2 separate regions of the Homo sapiens genome follow, and region 1 is linked to region 2. Evidence: promoter capture Hi-C in 16 types of primary human blood cells and fetal thymus (Javierre and others, 2016). All regions are on one chromosome and are shown on one strand. The core of a region is centred on a gene start or on the middle of the fragment in contact, and the rest is flanking DNA. Distances in the headings are between cores, read along the strand shown. Region 1 has its middle 50 kb from the start of SLC10A4. Region 2 holds the start of TXK (TXK tyrosine kinase).

Evidence for each region. The method cuts DNA at HindIII sites, captures the fragments that hold promoters and counts their contacts. A CHiCAGO score of 5 or more calls a contact.
Region 1: a fragment that was not itself captured here is called in contact with the fragment with the promoter of TXK in region 2 in 1 of 17 cell types (megakaryocytes); the score reaches 5.2 in megakaryocytes.

The regions. Positions count from the first base shown.
Region 1 is chr4:48,431,879-48,434,578 of GRCh38, reverse strand. No RefSeq gene overlaps it. Among named protein-coding and RNA genes, the nearest start is that of SLC10A4, 50 kb to the left of the region's middle. The HindIII fragment of the contact is 5,888 bases long and covers 1-2,700 here.
Region 2 is chr4:48,132,869-48,135,568 of GRCh38, reverse strand. TXK (TXK tyrosine kinase) reads left to right here and starts at 1,319. Exons shown (of 15, transcript NM_003328.3): 1 at 1,319-1,414. The coding sequence starts at 1,399. RefSeq lists a silencer at 1,583-1,877. The HindIII fragment of the contact is 7,086 bases long and covers 1-2,700 here.

The sequences.
Region 1 (2,700 bases), core at 88-2,587, 300 kb before region 2:
TGTTTACTCTTTTGATAGTTTCTGTTGCTGTGCAGAAGCTCTTTAAGTCATATTTGTCAATTTTTGTTTTTGTTGCATTTGCTTTTGAGATCTCAGTCATAAATTCTTTGCCTAAGCCAATGTCCAGAAGAGTTTTTCCCAGGTTTTCTAGGATTTTTATAGTTTGATTCAATCTGGCAATCCCACTACTGGGTGTTTACTCAAAAGAAATCGTTCTATCAAAAAGATACATGCACTTGTATGTTCATCGCAGCACTATTCACAATAGCATTTATATATTTAATATATTTATATTATTAAAATATATAAATTATATAAATGAAATCAACCTAAGTGTCCATCAACAAATGACTGGATAAAGCAAATGTGATACACACACACCACAGAATACTACACAGCCATAAAAAAGAATAAAAATCATGTCCTTTGCAGTCACATGGACACAGCTGGAGGCCATCATCCTAAGTGAATTAACTCAGAAACAGAAAATACCGCATGTCCTCATATATAAGTGGGAGCTAAACAATGGGTACATATGGATAAAAAGATGGGAACAGTAGACATTGGGGATTCCAAAAGGGGAGAGGCTGAAAAACTACCTACTGGATACTATGTTCGCTGTTTGGGTGATGGGTTAAATAGAACCCCAAATTCCAGCATTATGCAAGACTCTCATGTAAAAAATCTGCACATGTACCCTCTGAATCTAAAATAAAAGTTGAAATTATATAAACAAATATATAAACAAACAAGACACCTTTGCCAGGTGCAGTGGCTCATGCCTGTAATTCTGCAACTGGGGAGATTGAAGTGGGAGGATTGTGAGCCCAGAAGTCCAAGGTTACAGGGAGTTGTGATCGTGCCACTGCACACCAGCCTGGGTGACAGAACGAGACTCAAAAAACCACACCTTCATCTCATATTTCTATAAACCACCTTAAATCCTTTTGGGGACAAAACCGGCTTAAAAAAAAAATAAATTCAGTTGCTGCAATTGAGCGTCATATATGGATCTAAACTTTCGGGCAACAGGGACAAAAATGCAAACATGATAAATCACATAGGTCTTGTATTGAAGGAGAGCCCCAGTTCCTCAAAAGAGACAATGATTTTTCCAGATACTGCATTCTAGAAAAAAATTCTCACATGGGCCTTTATATAGGGGATATTGAGTCACATAAGGAACAATGCTCTTGATAATTTTACACCAGAGGCAGAAGCAGCTTTTGTTCTTCATAAACCCTTGATAAAGCCAAATGCATAATATTAGAGTAAAATTCATGAAAATGCTTCTCGTGGTGCAAATACAAAACTCATGATGCCATGAATGGAGAAGGCTGAAACAATGAAGAGTGCATTCACAGACTAGATTGAACTCATTTCATTAAGTAAAACAAGTTTTTTGAGGGGAGCAAGGAAAACAGCGGTTATATTTCTCTTTTACTGTTTGAAAAAGCAGTGGGTATACATATGGACATGATAAAGAATTCAAACAGGGCTAGGTGGGGTGGGTGTGCGCCCCTAGTCCCAGCTACTCAGGAGGCTGACTGACGTGGGAGGATCGCTTGAGCCCAGGAGTTCAAGGCTGTAGTGAGCTATGATCACGCTGCACTCCAGCCTGGCCAACAGACCCCGTCTCTTAAAAAAAAAAAGAAAAAAAAAAAAGAAAAAAGAATTAAAATACTCAGGTAAAATGCTGGTTCCTTATCTCCTTACCACTGTTAGCTGTGTCTCCCACTCCCGTCTTCACAGGTAACCAGTTACCTGTTTCTTTTGTATCCCTTCAGAAGCAGTCATTGTTAACAGAGCAAATATGACACACAAACCTTTTTATTCCAAATGGCATTTTGACACCTTGTTTTTACTTTTCATGATGCATCGTGGGTGTCTTTCCATATCATTACACATAGAGCTATTATATCTTGATCTTGGTAATAGGTGCCTAATATTTCAGTGAATGTTTCATAATTTAACCAGTTTCCTATTGAGGGACATTTAAGTCCAGCCTTGTTTGTCCACAAATACTACTATATACATATTCTTGTATTCTTATCTACACAAGCACATAGACAGGTACACCTATAAGATAATTAGAAGTGGAATCAATGGGTCCAAATGTACATTTTTTAAATTTATTTTTTTGTAGAGATGGGGTCTACTATGTTGCCTAAGTTGGTCTCAAAAAACTTCTGGTCTCAAGCAATCCTCCAGCCGTGGCCTCTCAAACTTGGGATTATAGGTGTGAGCCACCGTAGCCAGGCCAAAGGTATGTTTTAAATTTTGTTGTGTTTCAAATTGCTCTCTAAAGAGACTCCCATCAGCAATGCTTTCATTCAGTAAATATTTGTGTGCCTACCATGTGCCAGGCACTGGTCTAGGTATTTGCCAAGAGTTGATAAACAAAAATGATCTCTGCCTCCATGAACCATATATGGTATACATGCATGCGGGTGTGTGTGGGTGTGTGTGCCCACATGCAAGGGCATGCACACGAGTGGAGGGAGAAGAGAAAGCTGGCATAATAATGAGTTAATTATATGGGATGCTTGGAGGTGATAAGTGCTATGGAAAAGAGGAAGAGTTTGGTTAAAAAAAAATAAGATTAGAAGCTGGGGGAGGGGCTGAGTCAAAATTTTCACTGAGGAGGTGACACATGAGCAGACTTGAAGCAGGTAAGGGATTCGACATATGGCATCTGGG
Region 2 (2,700 bases), core at 70-2,569:
TATTTCCTGATATTAGCCTGGCATGCATTAGCTATTTTTCCTGATGCTCTCCCCTCATCTGCCCTCCCCAACAGGCCCCAGTATGTGTTGTTCCCCTCCCTGTGTCCATGTGTTTCATGGTTCAGTTCCCACTTATAAGTGAGAACATGTGGTGTTTGGTTTTCTGTTCCTGCATTACTTTGCTAAGGATAACGGCTTCCAGTTCCATCCATGTCCCTGCAAAGGACATGATTTCATTCTGTATAGCTGCATAATATTCCACGGTGTATATGTACCACATTTTCTTTATCCAGCCTATCATTGATGGGCATTTTGGTTGCTAACCATGCACAACTTTTAACTGACTTGTAGCTCATTGAAGGAGTCGGTCCTGGCACACTCTACCTTACTATCACTGTCAGCCTTTTCTCCTTCCTTCCTGACCTTCCCTCCTCCCATCCCATACTTCCCTTTTCACCTTGAGGAGCTACGGGAAGTACTAGGTGGTATGAAAGAGAGTGAGGAGAAGATAGAGTCCCTGTCCTAATGGTCAGTGTATGCTTTTTATGGGAAAACAAGATAGATAGCACCTGGCAACATTTGTCAACATTTCCTTCAAAAATCTTTAAATATTTTTCACTAAGACTTAGAAAAAAAGTTTTATACGAAAGCATAACAAAGGCAAAAGGTGAAGTAAAAATAACAGTCATCACCCAGAATGCTAAGGAGACCTTAATCTAAACCAGGAAATTGGAAGGGCGATTAGAATATGCTGTGTCTTCATTAAAGTTGCTCTGTTAATTAGTTGACACATGGTTATGCTTTCCAGTGGGATGAAGTGAAACTCCCAAGTGTGTTTTGTATTGTTGGTGTTTTTATATTTCTCAGCCATCCCCCAATCACATTTTAGGGTTATTACTAGATTGACTTCCCCCAAATAAAGTGTCTGCTGAGTGGGAGGATGGAACATTCTAAACTCAATATTCCAGAGCCTAGAATCTAATTGTTTCTGCCACTCACGGTGTGGCCTTGGGCAAGTCCCTTATTCTGTCTGTGCCTTCATTTCCTTCCCAGTCCAGAGAGGGCAGTTTGATTTGATAATTTTAAAGGTGCCTTTTACCAAAATTTTGTGATTTCTTGAAAATGATGTTTGCGAGTCACCCACACCTTTGGGGATGAGAGACTAATAGCAGATACCCTCAGAGATTGGGATGGAGATTACTGAGCTTTCTTATATATGCCATTGGTTGTCATTTATACTCTTCTGAGGTTTTCAGAACAGGAAAATAGGTGGGGTTAACTCTGCCCGTGAGAAACATCTTGAGCGAACTATGATTTCAGTTGAAAGATGTGTTTTTGTGAGTAGAGCACCGCAGAAGAACTGAAGACTGTTGTGTGCTCCCCGCAGAAGGGGCTACCATGATCCTTTCCTCCTGTGAGTAAGATGGGCTTTGTCATTTATTTTTGGGGCTTGTTCTGGGGCCTGTTATTCTTGAACAGCAGAGGAAGTTTTTTTTTTCCAAGGCATAGAGCTTGGGGACATTAAAAGATAATTTCCTCAGATGTTGTGACAGAGTTTTGTTTCTTATTTAAAGAACCACAGTGATGATGTAATTCTAATAAAGGTTCAGCATTGAGAACATAAATGAAAGAAAAACAGAAAGAGTGTCCAGAAATCTGCATATGTGTGTGTAGAAATGCAATCAGTATGAAGTACTTGTTTTTAGAATGAGACTGTAATGAGCTCTGGGCTGAAGGCCAGGAGACCAAGTTCTAGTTCTGGATTTGCTCCAGCAGTGGTGGATCACAGTGGGCAACTTTATATATATATAAATACACACACATACACACACACACAAATAAATATCTATATTTAAGGCAAAAGGAAGAGAAGTCAAAACACAACTGTGTTTATACTCTGAAATTATCTGCTTTATCAAGTAAACATATAGACTTAACCTTTATTTTCACAGGGGTATTTATTCACAATTCTATGTAGACTTCCGTTATCGAGGACCTTTCCCAAGCAATTGAAATTTAGGCAAAACTGATTCTTATCTGCAGTCAGAGCCTGAGTAAAGGCCAAAATAAGAGTCAAAGTCACGAGTCTCTACCTGGTTAAAAGTGTGAACATGGTCAAGTGTGAACACTGGCTCAAATGTCTCTTTCCCTCATATATAATACTACATATGAAGATGTTATTTTAATATTTTTATAGAATATAAGACCATCATTAAAAATAAGTGCTTGTTTTAGGAGAACAGAGAAAGATTCCCTAGACACTGTTATCTGTGAAGATCCTTGGTTTGAAAGAGCTGTGGGGGATGCTTATAAATCCAAAGAAATTAGAATAAAAAAAAAAACCAAGCAGAATAGTCTTCTAAATAAGAAGGCAGCCGTCATATCAGAATTGCAATGTGTTTGTTTCTTTATAAAGGTATTTATTGAGCACCTACTATGGGCCATGGTCTATACCAGTTCCTTTATATTCATTATCTGAAATCTTCACTACAAACTGGCAAGGTGAAAATTGTTATTCTTATCTAGCCAATAAGAAAATTGTGCCTTTGAAAGTTTAAATCTTGCCAGAAACTCATATGGTTGTCAGACGCAGGATTTAAGTATGAGACTTTTTTTTTTTTTTTAGACAGAGTCTTGCTCTGTCACCCAGGCTGGAGTGCAGTGGCACGATCTCAGCTCACTGCAACCTCCACCTCCTGG